Regions from separate parts of the Homo sapiens genome. Here regions 2, 3, 4 and 5 are each linked to region 1. Evidence: promoter capture Hi-C in human tissues and cell types (Jung and others, 2019). All regions are on one chromosome and are shown on one strand. The core of a region is centred on a gene start or on the middle of the fragment in contact, and the rest is flanking DNA. Distances in the headings are between cores, read along the strand shown.

Region 1 (3,254 bases), core at 536-3,035:
TGTGACCTGAAGAGAAGTGGTCAATAGACTGAAGATGGCAGAGAAAAGACAGAAGGAACCTGAGTCCTTCTCGAAGCTACTGAGCTGTTAAATTATCCAAACTGGGCTGGGCACGGTGGCTTACACCTGTAATCCCAGAACTTTGGGAGGCCGAGGCAGGTAGATCTTTTGAGGTCAGAAGTTCGAGACCTGCCTGGCCAACATACAGAAACCCCGTCTCTACTAAAAATACAAAAATTAGCTGGGCATGGTGATGGGTGCCTGTAATCCCAGCTACTTGGGAGGCTGAGCAGGAGAATGGCTTGAACCTGGGAGGTGGAGGTTGCAGTGAGCTGAGATTGAGCCACTGCACTCCAGCCTGGGCAACAGAGCGAGACTCCGTCTCAAAACGAAAACAAAAACATACAAACAAAACCAAAGCAAAACGGCTGGATGCTTGTCATCCTTGTTTACTGCTAAATCCTCAGCAGATTCTCAGTAAGTGCTGAGTGAATGAATGAATGAATGAATGAATTTAATTTCTTAGGAGGATCAGAAAACGAGGTCAGACAGGTCAGGAGAGATGAGAGTTATGAAGGGTTATGGGGTTGGACTATATCATGTGGGTGATGGGGAGTCCCTCGGAATGGAGAGACTCCCTCAGGGCAAGGACGGTGTCTTCCTTCTTAAATTGGCAGCCTCTTCCCTCTGGACCTCCCCGTAAAGCCCAGGAGGAGGCGGAAGCCACAGGGGATGTATGGGTACAGAAGAAACAAGTCCCGACTCCTTCCTGGGCATGCAGGACGGCGCTGTGTTCCACAGGCCGCTTGAGTGTTCCTGGCTTTTGCCCAGCACTAACCCACCAAGCTGTACAAGAACATAATCTTCTGTTCTTCGTAGATGTTCATGGGGTTCACCAGGAGCTGAAAGAGACCTAAGGGCACAAGGTCAAGCCAAAGGCCAAAAGATGGGTCCTAGCCCTGGTCCAGCCTCTGCCCACCCCGAACTTTCTGCTTCCACACTCACCTATGGCCAGGAGCCCCCCAGCGCCTGCCCCCAGCAGGAGAGCAGTGACAGGAAACTCGCCCGGCTGGCGCCACAGGAACCAGCTACAGGAGACTGGCAGCCCCCAGGTCAGGAGCCTCTGCACCGCTAAGAGGGGGACAGGGTAGCTCAACAGCCCACTCTTCTGCCTGGGATGGGGCTCATTAGGATTCAGGGCTTGCAGGTGGATAGAGGCTGGGGAAACCTGGCATGTGAAACAGTAGGAACTTAGGGGACCCTGGAGGAGGATGAGGGAGCCTGAGGAAGTGGTATGGGTGTAAGGGACAGCAAAGGCAAGGGCTGGGCTGGGAGGCGGGAGGCACTAGACCAGAGAGGTGGTGGAGGCGCGGACACCGAGTTGGGGGATAGTGTGCAGGAGTTCCAGGAGGAGAGATGGGATGAGAGTGGAGGTCAAGGGATACTGGGTCTCTGCTGAGTGACTCACTGGTATGAGGCTGTTTTCTTCTTTGCCCTCTTGTGCCATTCTGATGATGTTTAATGTCCATGAGTCTGTTTTGGGGAAGCACCACTCATCCCAGGTCTCCTGAAGGACCTCCTTGGACACAAGGTTCTGGTGAGAGAAGAGAGGTGCTGCCTGTCTCTTCCGCTTCATGGGAAGCCTAGGCCTGAGCTCTGGGCCTTTTAATCCTTCTGCTCCGAGAAGTGGGGAAGGAGATTAGAGACCTACCTATCCCCTCTCCAGTCCTCGGAACTGGGTCAAGGATTCCAAGACATATGCAGTGAAAGCCCTTTGGAACCTTAGAATACGGTGAGAAATTCCAGGAGCACAGAAGTCAGCGGGCATCTCCTGGAGACAGGCAGACATTTGGTCTCAGCAGCCATGCCCAAAGTCATGAAGGATGTTGTGCACCCCTTGGGGGGAGAGGAGCCTAGCATGGCGAGAGCTGTGGTTCGCAGCGTGGGAGGTTTTACCCTGGGCTTGTCTTTAGCCACGGCCTACGGGCTTCTGGAGCTACTGGTGGAAGGCCACAGCCCCTGGGGTTGCCTGGTGGGCACCCTCACTTTGGCTGCCTTCCTTAGCCTGGGCATGGGATTCTCTCGCCAGGTCCGAGCCACTGTCCTCCTGCTGCTGCCTCAGGCCTTCTCCAGTGAGCTTGGCACCCAGGGCTAGGGGGCAGGTCCTGGGGCTGGTGCTGGGGCAGAAGAGATGCTGGAGGAGAGGCAGGGGTTAAGGGAAATATTCTGAAGGCTTATGTAAGGGACTTGCTGCCATGTTTGGGGCTGGGGTCTTGGTTCTAACAAAGCTGTCGCCCCCAGGGCAGGGCCGGACACTACTGTTGGTGGCTGCTTTTGGGTTGGTGCTTCAAGGGCCTTGTGCCAACACTCTACGCAACTTCACCCGGGCCAGCGAGGCTGTAGCCTGTGGGGCAGAGCTGGCCCTGAACCAGACCGCCGAAGTGCTACAGAGGGCCAAGCAACCTCTTGTCAGTAAGTCCCCCACCTCTACCACTGTCTCCCACGGGCCCCCCTCGCCCCCCTCATCCTGCATGTTCTACAGTCCTTTGGCCTCCTTCTCTGCTGGTGCTAATCGCGGAGCATCTGGGCCTGGAAGGGACTCTGGGCACAGCTAAACCCTCTCTCCTTGCTCTCTGGCCTCCTCCACTCCCAGATTAACGATCTCCCAGGCCCCAGAATCCAGGCTTCCCGCCTCTGGAAATGGTGGCCTCCTCTCTACTCCCTGCTTAAGGGGCAATGGTGAGAACCAGCCCCTAGAGGAGAAGACTCCAAAGTGCCTCTGTCCCTCACCCATCAGGTGCCCTGAACAAGATTAAAGCTATTGCCCGGAAGACCAAAGAGGTGGCTGACCGGGTCCGCAAGTTCTTTCGGTCAATCATGGATGGTGTGAAACACATAGGTAAGCACATTAGCATGTCTATCCCGGGGACTCAAAATGCACCCAGTCCTGGCCGGGTGCGGTGGCTCATGCCTGTAATCCCAGCACTTTGCGAGGCCGAGGTGGGAGAATCACTTGAGCCCAGGAGTTTGAGACCAGCCTTGGCAACATGGCGAGACCCTGTCTCTATAAAAAATAAAAAAATAGAAAATAAATAAAACTAGCCAGATGTAATGACACATGTCTGTAGTCCCAGCTACTGGGGAGGCTATGGTGGAAGGATCTCTTGAACCCAGGGGTTTGAGGCTGCAGTGAGCTATGATCGTGCCACTGTACTCCAATCCAGCCTGGGTGACAGTGTGAGACTCCATCTCTA
Region 2 (3,254 bases), core at 445-2,944, 430 kb after region 1:
GTTATGGAAGAAAGGGTCCCACCTCTACCTGTGCAGCCTCCAGGAGAGTCTGAGGAGGGGGCGGTGAGTGTGAGTAAATGTTGTCAGAATCCCTCCTCCCAGTCTACAAGCCCCAGGGAAAGGAAGCAAGGTGTTTACTGACACCCCCAGGCTTATAAGTACTTCCTGGCTCCATCACCCTCCAGTGAACAGCCCTGGGGAGAAGACAGTACTGGTTTGCAGGTGGGTGGGTGGGGAAAGGGGTCACAGGTGCTTGGTGTTCTGGTAAATGTGCATATGAGAACATGGGGTTGCTTGTGCCCTGTCCGTCAGGGTTCAGAAGAACGTGCAGTGGAAGCAGCTATGGGGAAGTAGCTAGGGAAGGTAGGACTGGTCTGAGGTGGTGAGGAGCAGATGCTGCCAGCTCCACACATCCAGGAGAGCCTGGGTGGTTTGGGCAAAAGTCTCTGGCATCCCTTCTGAGCCTGGGTACCACACTGAAGAGTGAGGACAGTGTGCCATTTTTATCAGGAAACCCTCCAGCTCCCTGAAGACCAAATTCTGATCCTCCTGGGATGGCAGTGAAGAGCCACAGAGATGACTCTGAGGTCCCGTGGCCTTTTCCCACCTGGAGATTGTTTTCGTTACTGCGCTGTTACAGCCTTGGAGGACTGGGGTTCAGTTTCATCCAATCACATTTCTTCTTTTGTCATAGTCATCTAAACGATAGATCTTAGAGACAGGTGGGCAAGGGGTGCACTGGTGAGCCTGACTTAAGGAGAGGTCATCTCGTCCCTTCCCTAGTCCCATCTCCCTTGGTTATTGTTATTTCATGTGATTGTTCTGGTTATTTCAGGTTATTCTGTTTTTGTTTTCAAAACAATAACATATATTTGTTGTTCTGATTTTAAAGGGGTAATTGTTTTGGTAACTAGAAAATTACCTTCTCAACTCCCTTAAATTCTGTCAAAGGGAAAAGTAAGTTAGGTTGCTGGAGAGGCTATGCTGAGGCCTCAGAACCTCTGTATTCCTGGAAGTTCTGCGTGCTTTGCCTCCTGCTCCCCTCTCTGTGTTCCTGTTGGCAGGCCCCTAGGCAGGATTTAGGAGGTAGGCAAGTCACCCTAGCCAAGTCATAAGCCCATGGCTCAATTGCCTTCTCAGCCCTTCAAGGGCTGTTCCACAGGCAGCAAAGGGAGGGGCCTCCACAGGTTCACCACTGCAGCCCTAATTCATTTTCTTTTTCCACTGTCTTATTCTGCAGGGGTATTCCCTCAGCGGATACTACACCCATCCATTTCAAGGCTATGAGCACAGACAGCTCAGGTACCAGCAGCCTGGGCCAGGATCTTCCCCCAGTAGTTTCCTGCTTAAGCAAATAGAATTTCTCAAGGGGCAGCTCCCAGAAGCACCGGTGATTGGAAAGCAGACACCGTCACTGCCACCTTCCCTCCCAGGACTCCGGCCAAGGTTTCCAGTACTACTTGCCTCCAGTACCAGAGGCAGGCAAGTGGACATCAGGGGTGTCCCCAGGGGCGTGCATCTCAGAAGTCAGGGGCTCCAGAGAGGGTTCCAGCATCCTTCACCACGTGGCAGGAGTCTGCCACAGAGAGGTGTTGATTGCCTTTCCTCACATTTCCAGGAACTGAGTATCTACCAAGATCAGGAACAAAGGATCTTAAAGTTCCTGGAAGAGCTTGGGGAAGGGAAGGCCACCACAGCACATGATCTGTCTGGGAAACTTGGGACTCCGAAGAAAGAAATCAATCGAGTTTTATACTCCCTGGCAAAGAAGGGCAAGCTACAGAAAGAGGCAGGAACACCCCCTTTGTGGAAAATCGCGGTCTCCACTCAGGCTTGGAACCAGCACAGCGGAGTGGTAAGACCAGACGGTCATAGCCAAGGAGCCCCAAACTCAGACCCGAGTTTGGAACCGGAAGACAGAAACTCCACATCTGTCTCAGAAGATCTTCTTGAGCCTTTTATTGCAGTCTCAGCTCAGGCTTGGAACCAGCACAGCGGAGTGGTAAGACCAGACAGTCATAGCCAAGGATCCCCAAACTCAGACCCAGGTTTGGAACCTGAAGACAGCAACTCCACATCTGCCTTGGAAGATCCTCTTGAGTTTTTAGACATGGCCGAGATCAAGGAGAAAATCTGCGACTATCTCTTCAATGTGTCTGACTCCTCTGCCCTGAATTTGGCTAAAAATATTGGCCTTACCAAGGCCCGAGATATAAATGCTGTGCTAATTGACATGGAAAGGCAGGGGGATGTCTATAGACAAGGGACAACCCCTCCCATATGGCATTTGACAGACAAGAAGCGAGAGAGGATGCAAATCAAGAGAAATACGAACAGTGTTCCTGAAACCGCTCCAGCTGCAATCCCTGAGACCAAAAGAAACGCAGAGTTCCTCACCTGTAATATACCCACATCAAATGCCTCAAATAACATGGTAACCACAGAAAAAGTGGAGAATGGGCAGGAACCTGTCATAAAGTTAGAAAACAGGCAAGAGGCCAGACCAGAACCAGCAAGACTGAAACCACCTGTTCATTACAATGGCCCCTCAAAAGCAGGGTATGTTGACTTTGAAAATGGCCAGTGGGCCACAGATGACATCCCAGATGACTTGAATAGTATCCGCGCAGCACCAGGTGAGTTTCGAGCCATCATGGAGATGCCCTCCTTCTACAGTCATGGCTTGCCACGGTGTTCACCCTACAAGAAACTGACAGAGTGCCAGCTGAAGAACCCCATCAGCGGGCTGTTAGAATATGCCCAGTTCGCTAGTCAAACCTGTGAGTTCAACATGATAGAGCAGAGTGGACCACCCCATGAACCTCGGTAAGAGACCACCCAGGAACTGTACCTAGGGTTGGGGTCAGGTGCTTTTGCTCCTGACGCAGTCTTGGCTGATTTGTGAGCAGTGCTGTTTGGTGGCGCCTATCTTTTCCTCCTTCCCTTCTGCCTTTTAGCTAAATTCCCCTTGATTGGCCCTTTCTCCAGATATTGAGCAGGGAATATAGACCTTGGACCAGCCAGAATCTTGGCTGAACAAGGGGGAGGTTGACTCTGTTGGCTGTAATGAAGCTTCTTTAGAAATGATTGGTTTTGGCCGTACGCGGTGGCTCATGCCTGTAATCCCAGCACTTTTTGAGGCCGAGGCAGGCATATCACGAGGTCAGGAGTTTGAGACCAGCCTGGCCAACATGGTGAAACCCTGTCTCTACTAAAAATACAAAAATTAGCTGGGCGTGGTGGCGTGCACCTGT
Region 3 (3,254 bases), core at 471-2,970, 380 kb after region 1:
CAAAGCTTAGTGCCCTTGCAAGCTGGAGAATTGGTTGTAAAATCTTCCATAAAGTCAGGGCCCCCAAAGGGCTATCCTCTCAGTGAAAGAATGAACTAGAAAGAAAAGCCTGTCTCATAAAGGAGAAGGACATACCTCTGAATAAAATGAAATAAAATCTCCCCCAAAATAACTCATAAGCATTAAGTTGTCCTTCACAAAGCATTGGTGCCAAAATTCATGCTACCTGTTTGGTCAAAACAATTCCAAGCCAAGAATGTAAAGTGGTCCCAAGTTTGGTGTGTCCCTAATGTACTTAGCAGAGGAAAAACAAATCCTTTCTAATGGAATACACCTTTAATGTAAATTTTGAAGATTATTCACAGGTGCAGTTCCAACAAACATGAGATCACAATGAAAATTACAGGATACATATGAGGAAAAGACACCATGTGAGAAAGTCAGCAGAGAGGCCGGGCGCAGTGGCTCACGCCTGTAATCCCAGCACTTTGGGAGGCCGAGGGGGGCAGATCACGAGGTCAGGAAATCGAGACCATCCTGGCTAACACAGTGAAACCCTGCCTCTACTAAAAATACAAAAACAAAATTAGCCGGGCGTGGTGGCAGGCGCCTGTAGTCCCAGCTACTCGGGAGGCTGAGGCAGGAGAATGGCGTGAACCTGGGAGGTGGAGCTTGCAGTGAGCTGAGATAGCGCCACTGCACTCCAGCCTGGGCGACAGAGCGAGACTCCATCTCAAAAAAAAAGAAAAAGAAAAAGAAAGAAAGTCAGCAGAGAAATTAACAGCAAAATCAGACTCGCAAAGACTTCAGCATTGACGTGACCATATGAAGTAAAACAAATGAGGAATTGACAGGTTTTTAAGAAGATTTTAAAACATGATAGAGGAACAAGACTATAAAAATGACCTTGATATGAAAAAATGTCAAACATAAATTGTAGAAATAAAAAACAAAATTGCCGAAATTAAGACTTCAACACCGAAAAGGTTGGAAATTAATAACTTTAAATGCTTATAATTTAAAAAGTAGAGAGAATAAAAATAATGAGCTAAATCTCCAACTTGGGAAATCAGAAAAAGAACAGCAGAATAACCATGAGGAAAGTAGTAGGAAGAAAAAAATAACAATAAGTAGAGAAAGTAATGAAACTGAAAACGGAGGATCAACAAAGCCAAAATTGATTCTTTGAAGTTGAAAGACTTCTGGAAAAATTTAAGAGACAGAGATAAACAGCATGTACAGATAAGCAATACTGAAAACTGAAAACGAGATAAAAATCTATAACTATGGTTATAGTGAACATTTAAACATAAAAGTATAAACAAATCAATGCTAATAATTCAAAACTTAGATGATATGGAAAACGTCCTAGAAAATATAATTTACCAAAACAGATTCAAGACTAGAAAGGCAGAATGAATAGCTCTATAATAATTAAAGAAATTCAATCAGTATTTAAAGTGTTCCCGCAAAGAAAATACCAAGCCCTGATATTTTCCAGGTGAGTTATATGAAATTTTCAAGGAGAAGATCATTCCAATCTTATAGGAGTTTTTGTGGACGATAGAAAAAGAGAGAATACTTGCCAGCTCAGTTTTGGAGGCATCTCTCGCTATTTCTGTGAGGTCTTTACACATGATCTCTCTAGTATGGTGGCTTCAGGGTAGCTAGACTTCTTATGTGTTGGCTCAGGTCTCCCAAGATGCTTGGAGAGGGTGTGTGTACGTGTGGAGAGAGATAGAGACAGAAACGCACACACACACACACACACACACACACAGAGAGAGAGAGAGAGAGAGAGAGAGAGACATGATATGAGAAGTGCTAGCCTTAGACTTGCTTTAGCCAATGCAGAGTGAGCAGAAGTGACAGACTCCCAGCCAGAAGCCTAAGAGCCAGTGCATGCTTCTCCAAGTTCCCTTTTCCCTCCACAACTGGCAATGTTCTACAGTAGCTTCCCTTTCAGGCTGAGCCTCAAAGTAAGAATGATGAAAATGTGGAACATTCTAAGGATTTTAGAAGGTGAAAAAACAGATAGAAAAAAATTAAAATGTGGAATAGAGCCCCCTGACTCATGATGAACATGTAGCATGAGGAAGAAATAAACTTTTTTGGTTGTTTTATTGCCATAACACAACCAGTCTTTCCTGACTGGTATGGGCACCTGGGAATAATTGCAGTACTGATACAAAGAAGATCATGATGCTTTATTGAAATACATTAAGAAGAATTAAGTAAAAAGAGAGAAATATTATCAATGGCTAGAAAGTCTCAATATCCTAAATTCTCACCCAAATGTCTCATAGATTCAGTGCCATTTCTATCAAAACTTTAAAGTGTTTTTCATAATTTTGACAAGCCAATTCTAAAATATATGTGAAAGAGCAAAGAGCCAAGATGATCCAAGGTACTCTCTAAAAAAGAATAAAATCAGCAATTACATTCTTGGGCATTTATCCCAGAGATATGAAAAGTTATAGTCACCCAAAACCTATGCTCAGATGTTTATAGCCACTTTATTCATAACATCTCAAAACTGAAAATAGCCCAAGTATACTTCAATGGGCGAGTGGTTAAGCAAACTGGTATATCCATACCATGGACTAGGATTCAGTCATAAAAAGGAATGGGCTATTAATACGTGTAACAATCTAGATGAATCTCATGGGAATTATGCTGAGTTGAAAAAAAAAAGCCTATCTCAAAAGGCTACATACAGTATTATTTCATTTATATAACATTACTTAAATAACAAAATTATAGAGATGGAGAACACGTTAATTGTTGTCAAGAATTAGGAATGAGGGGAAGGGGGACTGGTTGTGGCTATAAAGGGGTAGCACAAGGGAGCCTTGCAATGATGAAGCTGTTCTTTATCTTGATTTTGGTGGTGGTTACACAAATATATACACATAATAAATTTGATACAAGACATGAATATAGACACCCAAGAAGTAAAATAAACTAAAGAGACCCACTCTGAGACACATTGTAATCAAACTTTTGAAAGACAAAGAGAGAATCTTGAAAGCAGAAAGAAAAAAGCAACTTGTCACACACAAGGGATCCTAATTAAGATTATCAGAGAACTTCTCATGAGAAACTTTGGAGTCCAGGAAGCAGCTGGCCAATATATTTGAAGTGCTAAAAGAAAAAAAAAATGTTAACCACGAATCCTACATCCAGCAAATGCATCCTTCAAAAGTGAAGGAGAAATTAAGACATCTCAAGATAACCAAAGCTAAGAAAGTTTA
Region 4 (3,254 bases), core at 501-3,000, 340 kb after region 1:
AAATTTAATACATCTTTCTGAGGAAGTAGTTGATCAAGTAGACAAAATAAAAATCTAAAAAGATATAGAAAAATTGAATGACATAATCAAATCTGTAGGATACACTTTTTCCTTGTACATTGAATATTAATGAAACTTGACCACATAATGGACACTAAAGCAAGTTCAACACATTTTTTTTTTTTTGAGACAGAGTCTTGCTCTGTCGCCCAGGCTGGAGTGCAGTGGCGCGATCTCGGCTCACTGAAAGCTGCGCCTCACCGGTTCACGCCATTCTTGCCTCAGCCTCCCGAGTAGCTGGGACTACAGGCGCCCACCACCACGCCCGGCTAATTTTTTGTATTTTTTAGTGGAGACAGGGTTTCACCATGTTAGCTAGGATGGTCTCAACCTCCTGACCTCGTGATCCCCCCTCCTCGGACTTCCAAAGTGCTGGGATTACAGGTGTGGGCCACCGTGCCGGCCAAGTTCAACACGTTTTAAAGGAATGGTACCATACAAACAAAATTCTCTGACTTCAGTGTAATATATACCAAAGTTCAGGCCGGGCGCAGTGGCTCACACCTGTAATCCCAGCACTTTGGGAAGTTGAGACAGGTGGATCACTTAAGGTCAGGAGTTTGAGACCAGCCTGGCCAACATGGTGAAACCCTGTGTCTACTAAAAATACAAAAATTAGCCAGGAGTGGTGGTGCCCACCTGTAATCCCAGCTACTAGGGAGGTTGAGGCAGGAGAATCGTTTGAACCTGGGAGGCAGAGGCTGCAGTGAACCAAGATTGCACCACTGCACTCCAACCTGGGCAACAGAGCAATACTTCGTTTCAAAAAAAAAAAGCAAAATAACCACCATACCTGGTGGAAGCTGAACTTGAAAAAAATAAATACATAAATAAAATTCAGTAAGCAAAAAATCGTAACTAAAATAATACCTTTGGAAGTTAAGAAACATAAATAATTTATGAATCAAAGAATAAATCATAAAAATTTAAATATGTAAAACAGAACATTAAGGAAAATGCTGTGTTTCAAAATGAGTTGAATGAAATTTTAAGAAATTAGAAAGATTAGGCTGGGTGCGGTGGCTCACGCGTGTAATCCCAGCACTTTGGGAGACCAAGGCGGGCGGATCACGAGGTCAGGAGATCAAGACCATCCTGGCTAACACGGTGAAACCCTGTCTCTACTACAAATACAAAAAAAATTAGCCAGGCGTGGTGGCAGGTGCCTGTAGTTCCAGCTACTCAGGAGGCTGAGGCAGGAGAATGGCGTGATCCCGGGAGGCAAAGCTTGCAGTGAGCTGAGGTCGCACCATTGCACTCCAGTCTGAGAGACAGTGTGAGACTCCGTCTCAAAAAAAAAAGAAAAGGAAGAAAGAAATTAGAAAGAGTAACATGAGATTTCCAAATAAAGTAGAATATACAAATAGAGACAAGAGCAGAAACAATTAATAGAAAGTAAACTCACACTAGATGAGGTTTTTTAAAAGTCAAAAGTTCTTCCTTTGAATTTACTAATAAAATTGATAATTCTCTAGCAGGATTAAACAAGAGACAGAAAAACAGAGAAAGGGAGAAAAGGGAGAGAGAGAGAACACAAAACAATATTAGGAATGATGCTACAAATGCTAAAAAGATAAGAAGATATTTGGAAATGAAAAATATTACTTACCAAAACGGACTCAAGAAGAAATAGAAAAATGGAATAATCATAGTATCATTTTTTAAACTATAAATGAATGAATGAATGATTCAAAATTTTGTCACAAAGAGGCTGGGTGCAGTGGCTCACGCCTGTAATCCTAGACTTTGGGAGGCCGAGGTGGGTGGATCATGAGGTCAAGAGATCAAGACAATCCTGGCCAACATGGCGAAACCCCGTCTCGACTAAAAATACAAAAAAAAGTTAGCCGGGCATGGTGGCATGTGCCTGTAATCCCAACTACTCTGGAGGCTGAGGCAGGAGAATCACTTGAACCCGGGAGGTGGAGGTTGCAGTGAGCCGAGATCGCGCCCCTGCACTCCAGCCTGGAGACAGAGCAAGACTCCGTCTAAAAATAAAAATAAAAATAAAAATTCTGTCGCAAAGAAAACTGGCCTAGATGATTTTGGCAAATTCTACCAAACATTTAAATAGCAAAGTAAATCCAATTCACATATTTTTTTCCTAGATCATAAGAAAAAAAGAAAAGAAAAAGACCACTTTCCAAGTCATTTTATGAGGCTAGCAAAGGATTGATATCAGAACCTGATGAGGACAGTACAAGGAAGGAAAATTATAGACAAGTTTTACTTAAGACTGTTGATTCAAACATCCTAAACATGCTGTGATCAAACCAAATCTAGAAATAGGTGTGGGAGGTGGGGGAGTACACCAGAATTAAATCTGACCCAAAGAATACAAGTTTTTTTTTAATCTTAGAAAAGTAAAATAAAATTTACCAATGAACCAAAGAAGAAAAATAATCTAACAATAATAGATTTTTTAAAAGATTAATTAAACATTGGTAAATTAAAAATAAAAAACAAACCCTGAGCATTGCTTCTGGCCAGGAATATGGCAAAGGTGATGAGATGTCACTCCCAAGATTATGCTTTTTTTTTTTTTTTTTTTTTTTTCAAATAAGATTCCATGTTAATGGACTGGAGAGATTTTCCTACTGGCCTTGATGCAACAGATCTGTTGTGAACTGCCAAGGCCTACGGCAGGGGGCTGTGGGCAGCCACTAGGAGCCGAGAGTGACCAACAGCCAGTAATAAGCCAGGGCCACCAGTCATGTAGCCACCAGGAAATGAATTCTGCCAGCAATTTGAATGAGCTTAGAGAAAAGAATATTCTCTAGTTGAACCTCCAGACAAGAATGCAGCCTGGCCAAATGTTGACTAATCCTTGTGAGACTCTGACCAAATAACCCAACTAAACTGTACCCAGGCTCCTGAACCATGGAAACTGAGGTAATAAATATGTGTTGTTCGAGTCACTAAACCTGTGGTAATTTGTTATGCAGCAATAGAAAGTTAATACAAAAGGGAACTTCCTTAACACAATCAATGGCATCTGCAAAATGATATCTTCCTAAAGCACACATCATTCTTACCGGTAAAATCAAGATGCCTGTTATTACCCCTCCACAGTGGAGGGTCTAGCGGTGTAATAAGGATGGAAAAATAAATAAGAGGAAAAGGATTAGAACGGTAGAAAATTTTGTCATTATTGGCAGCCGCTATGTTTATCTACCCATCTACTTAAAAGCGTC
Region 5 (3,254 bases), core at 378-2,877, 290 kb after region 1:
ACCCTCAGAAGGTACCAAGGAAAGGCTACAGAGAATACTGTAATATAACTTCAGGGTTAGACAAATAGACCAATGGAACAGAATAGAGAACCAAGAAATAGTACCACTTCCACATATAATTTATGAGACAGAGGGAGCATTGAAAGCTAGTAGGAGAAAGGATGGTCTGCACATTAAGTGAAACTGAGATAATTGCTTACCCATGTGAAAAAAATGAAGTTGTATCCCTGCCTCACACCATATGCAAAATCAATTCCAGGCAAATTGAAGACTTAGAAAGGCAACATTTTAAAATATGTAAAAATGTTACAATCTCAGGGAGGGAATGATTTCTGCAAAAACCAAATAACTGCTAATTATAAATTAAAGGATGATAAAGTCACCTACAGTAAAATTTAAAACTTCTATTCATCAAAAATACTGTAGAGAAAAAGGCAAGGCACACACTGGAAGAAGATATTTGCAACACACAAACTGACAAAATTCTTATTATCTAGAATATATAAATAACTTTTAGAATCAATGAGAAAAAACAAAAACAAGCCAATAGAAAAGTGGACAAAAGTCATGAATGACACGCCACAGAAGAGAAAGTATGAATGACAAAGAAACATATGAAAGGCTACTTAAGCTTTTATCATGGAAACGTAAAGTCAAGTCTTGATGAGATCCCAATTCACCCACTAGTGTGGCAGAGATTAAAGTCAGACAATGGCAAGTGTTAATGAGGATATGGAGAAACAGGAACTCTTATCCACCTCTGGTGGAAGCCTAATTGGCACTGGCATCTTAGAAAACAACTTGACATTTCCTAATGAAGTGAAATATGTACATATCCTACAAACCAGCAAACCCAGTCTTAGGTATGTGTCCTAGAGAAACTCTTATGCAGTGTACCAGGAGCTATGATTAAGAATGTTTGGGCTGGGTGAGGTGGCTCATGCCTGTAATCCCAACATTTCAGGAGGTCAAGGCAGGAGAATCTCTTGAGCCCAGGAGTTTGAGGCTACAGTAAGCTATGATTGTGCCACTGCAGTCCAGCCTGGGCAACAGAGTAAGACCCTGTCTCTAAAAATACAATAACAATAAGTCAATAAAAAATAATGTTTGTAGCAGTATTTCTCATTAGAGGAAAAACCCGTAAGCTATCCCACTGTCCATCAACAGGTGAATGAATAAATAAATCATGCCATATTCATATGATGAAATACAATACAGGAATAAAAATAGACTATAGCTACATATGTCAATATAATATATATGTTGAACAGAAAAGAAGCAATTCATAGAAGAGTTCACTGTATTAGTTATCTGTTGCTACATAACAACTTGCTCCAAAATTTAGCAGCTAAAAACAGCAGACATTTACCATCTCAGGGTTGCTGTGGGTCAGGAATTCAGGTGCAGCTTAAATGGGTACCTCTGCCTCAAGTTCTCTCATGAGATTGTCAGGCTGTCAGCCAGGGCTGTGGTCTCACCTCAAGGCTTGACTTAAAGAACACCTGCTTCTAAGCTACTCATGTGGTGGTTGGCAGGCTGTGTCCCTTGCCATGTGGCACTCCACGGGCTTGCCTCCCGACATGGCCTGTGGATTCTCCCAGGGAGAGTGATCCAAAAGATAACTAGTGAGAGATCACCCAAGACAGAAGCCATGATCTTACCATAACCTAACTTCAGAAATGAAAGTCTATCACTTCTGCCATACTCTATGTGTTAGAAACCAGTTACTTGGTCCAGCCCACACTCAAAAGGAAAGGATTGCAAAAGTGTGTGAAGACCTCAAGAGGAGGGGGGATATCGAGGTCATTTTAGAAGCTTCCTACCATACTCTTGTGGTATGATTTCATCCTTATGAAGGTCGGAAATAGGAAAAATGAAATTACATATTGCTTAGGTAATCCTGCCTACATGGAAGCACTATGAAGAAAAACGAGGAAATGATAAACATGACATTCAGGGTAATGATGATCCTGGGGTGGGGGGCACTAAGAATGGAGAGAACATACAAGTAGATCCCACAGGTTGGAGCTGGATGGTGAGTTCATGGTGCTTATTTTCTTTCTGTGTTTCTTGATGTCATTTAATGTTGCATGTAGTTTTGTTTTTTCTCTTTGGTTTGGTGTTCTGTTGATATGATCAAAGTTACATGTGCATACACTGTAGAGTCAATCCTTCCGTGGTATTTGCTGTCTTCCACCAGCTCTTCCCATTTACTGTTCTCCAGAGGCAGCTACTTTTACCTTCTTTTGCTAATTAATTTTAGTATTTACCTCCATGTCTGTAAGTAATATGTGTGTATTGCTACCTTTTGATGCTTTGGTTTATTTAGGTATTATCTATTCCCTTCCCACTCTGGGAGATGAAAATTTAGCTCCCTTTCCTCTCCTCCAACTCTTCCTCTCCCTTCATCTTCCTTTTATAATTACATCATAATTTTGGTTAAAGCAGTAATCAGTGTTTACATTACTCAGTCAACACTAATTTGACTCTATTCATAGTTGAGCCTTGTAGTAAAAAATATGATAACTTTTCCCTTCCTGCAGAACTTTTCATTTTTCCTGGAGTTGTTAATGATCGTGTTTGTTTGTTTGCTTAGTTTTCTATGTATTCGTCATTAATGCAAGTGCAAACTCTGGCAGTTGTCTAAACCTCTTTTCAGGATGTTCAGGCACATTAAGTTTCCTATCAATTTCATCTCCTTGGAAGTGTCTCCCAGAGCCTCTTGACCTGCTCCAGCCCGGACGGGTTGTCCTCCGCACCTGGTGAGCACCTGTCCTATGAGGGCCTCCCTGTAGCATCACCCTGAGCTCGTTACCTTTATTCCTTGTCTTCCTCCTTGGTTTACTTCTTTGTTTTGGTGAAGCATACCTCCTGTGTCTTCCTGAGAGAGGGTGCATGGGAGGCAAACCCGTGACAACCTTACGTATCTGAAAATGTCTTCGTTCCACCCTCAGACTGAACTAATACTTTGGCCAATTCAGATTTCTGGTCTCTGGTTTGGAATTCTGATTTGGAAATAATTTTCCTCCAGAATTTTGAAGGCTTTATTCCATGGCCTTCTAGCTTCCAGTGTTGCTGTCAAAAAGTCCGAAGCTGTTGTAATTTCTGGTTCTTTGTATTTGGCCTCTTTTATACCCTCCCCCAAAACCCCTAAAGCTCTGTAGGATTGTCTCCTTTCCCCTGGTGTTCTGAAATTTCACAATAATGTGCCTTGGTGTGCATCTATTTTCATCCACTGTGCTGGGGACAGTGAG

The links. The method cuts DNA at HindIII sites, captures the fragments that hold promoters and counts their contacts. A contact is called where the count stands out against the background at its distance.
Region 2: a contact is called between a fragment that was not itself captured here and the fragment with the promoter of DCST2 in region 1, in 4 of the 25 tissues and cell types used here (hippocampus, lymphoblastoid cells, mesenchymal stem cells and 1 more).
Region 3: a fragment that was not itself captured here is called in contact with the fragment with the promoter of DCST2 in region 1 in 1 of the 25 tissues and cell types used here (spleen).
Region 4: a fragment that was not itself captured here is called in contact with the fragment with the promoter of DCST2 in region 1 in 1 of the 25 tissues and cell types used here (dorsolateral prefrontal cortex).
Region 5: a fragment that was not itself captured here is called in contact with the fragment with the promoter of DCST2 in region 1 in 2 of the 25 tissues and cell types used here (dorsolateral prefrontal cortex and spleen).

Annotation. Positions count from the first base shown.
Region 1 is chr1:155,032,312-155,035,565 of GRCh38, reverse strand. DCST2 (DC-STAMP domain containing 2) reads left to right here and starts at 1,785. Exons shown (of 15, transcript NM_144622.3): 1 at 1,785-2,132; 2 at 2,302-2,472; 3 at 2,798-2,899. The coding sequence starts at 1,865. DCST1 (DC-STAMP domain containing 1) reads right to left here and starts at 1,742. Exons shown (of 17, transcript NM_152494.4): 1 at 1,712-1,742; 2 at 1,469-1,594; 3 at 1,006-1,131; 4 at 839-913. The coding sequence starts at 1,529. The HindIII fragment of the contact is 8,066 bases long and covers 1-3,254 here.
Region 2 is chr1:154,600,613-154,603,866 of GRCh38, reverse strand. ADAR (adenosine deaminase RNA specific) reads left to right here. Exons shown (of 15, transcript NM_001111.5): 2 at 1,241-2,826. Among named protein-coding and RNA genes, the nearest start is that of ADAR, 5.9 kb to the left of the region's middle. The HindIII fragment of the contact is 4,304 bases long and covers 1-3,254 here.
Region 3 is chr1:154,656,361-154,659,614 of GRCh38, reverse strand. No RefSeq gene overlaps it. Among named protein-coding and RNA genes, the nearest start is that of ADAR, 50 kb to the right of the region's middle. The HindIII fragment of the contact is 9,513 bases long and covers 1-3,254 here.
Region 4 is chr1:154,688,857-154,692,110 of GRCh38, reverse strand. No RefSeq gene overlaps it. Among named protein-coding and RNA genes, the nearest start is that of ADAR, 82 kb to the right of the region's middle. The HindIII fragment of the contact is 3,971 bases long and covers 1-3,254 here.
Region 5 is chr1:154,738,116-154,741,369 of GRCh38, reverse strand. The region is part of intron 3 of KCNN3 (potassium calcium-activated channel subfamily N member 3); the gene reads left to right. Among named protein-coding and RNA genes, the nearest start is that of KCNN3, 130 kb to the left of the region's middle. The HindIII fragment of the contact is 3,387 bases long and covers 1-3,254 here.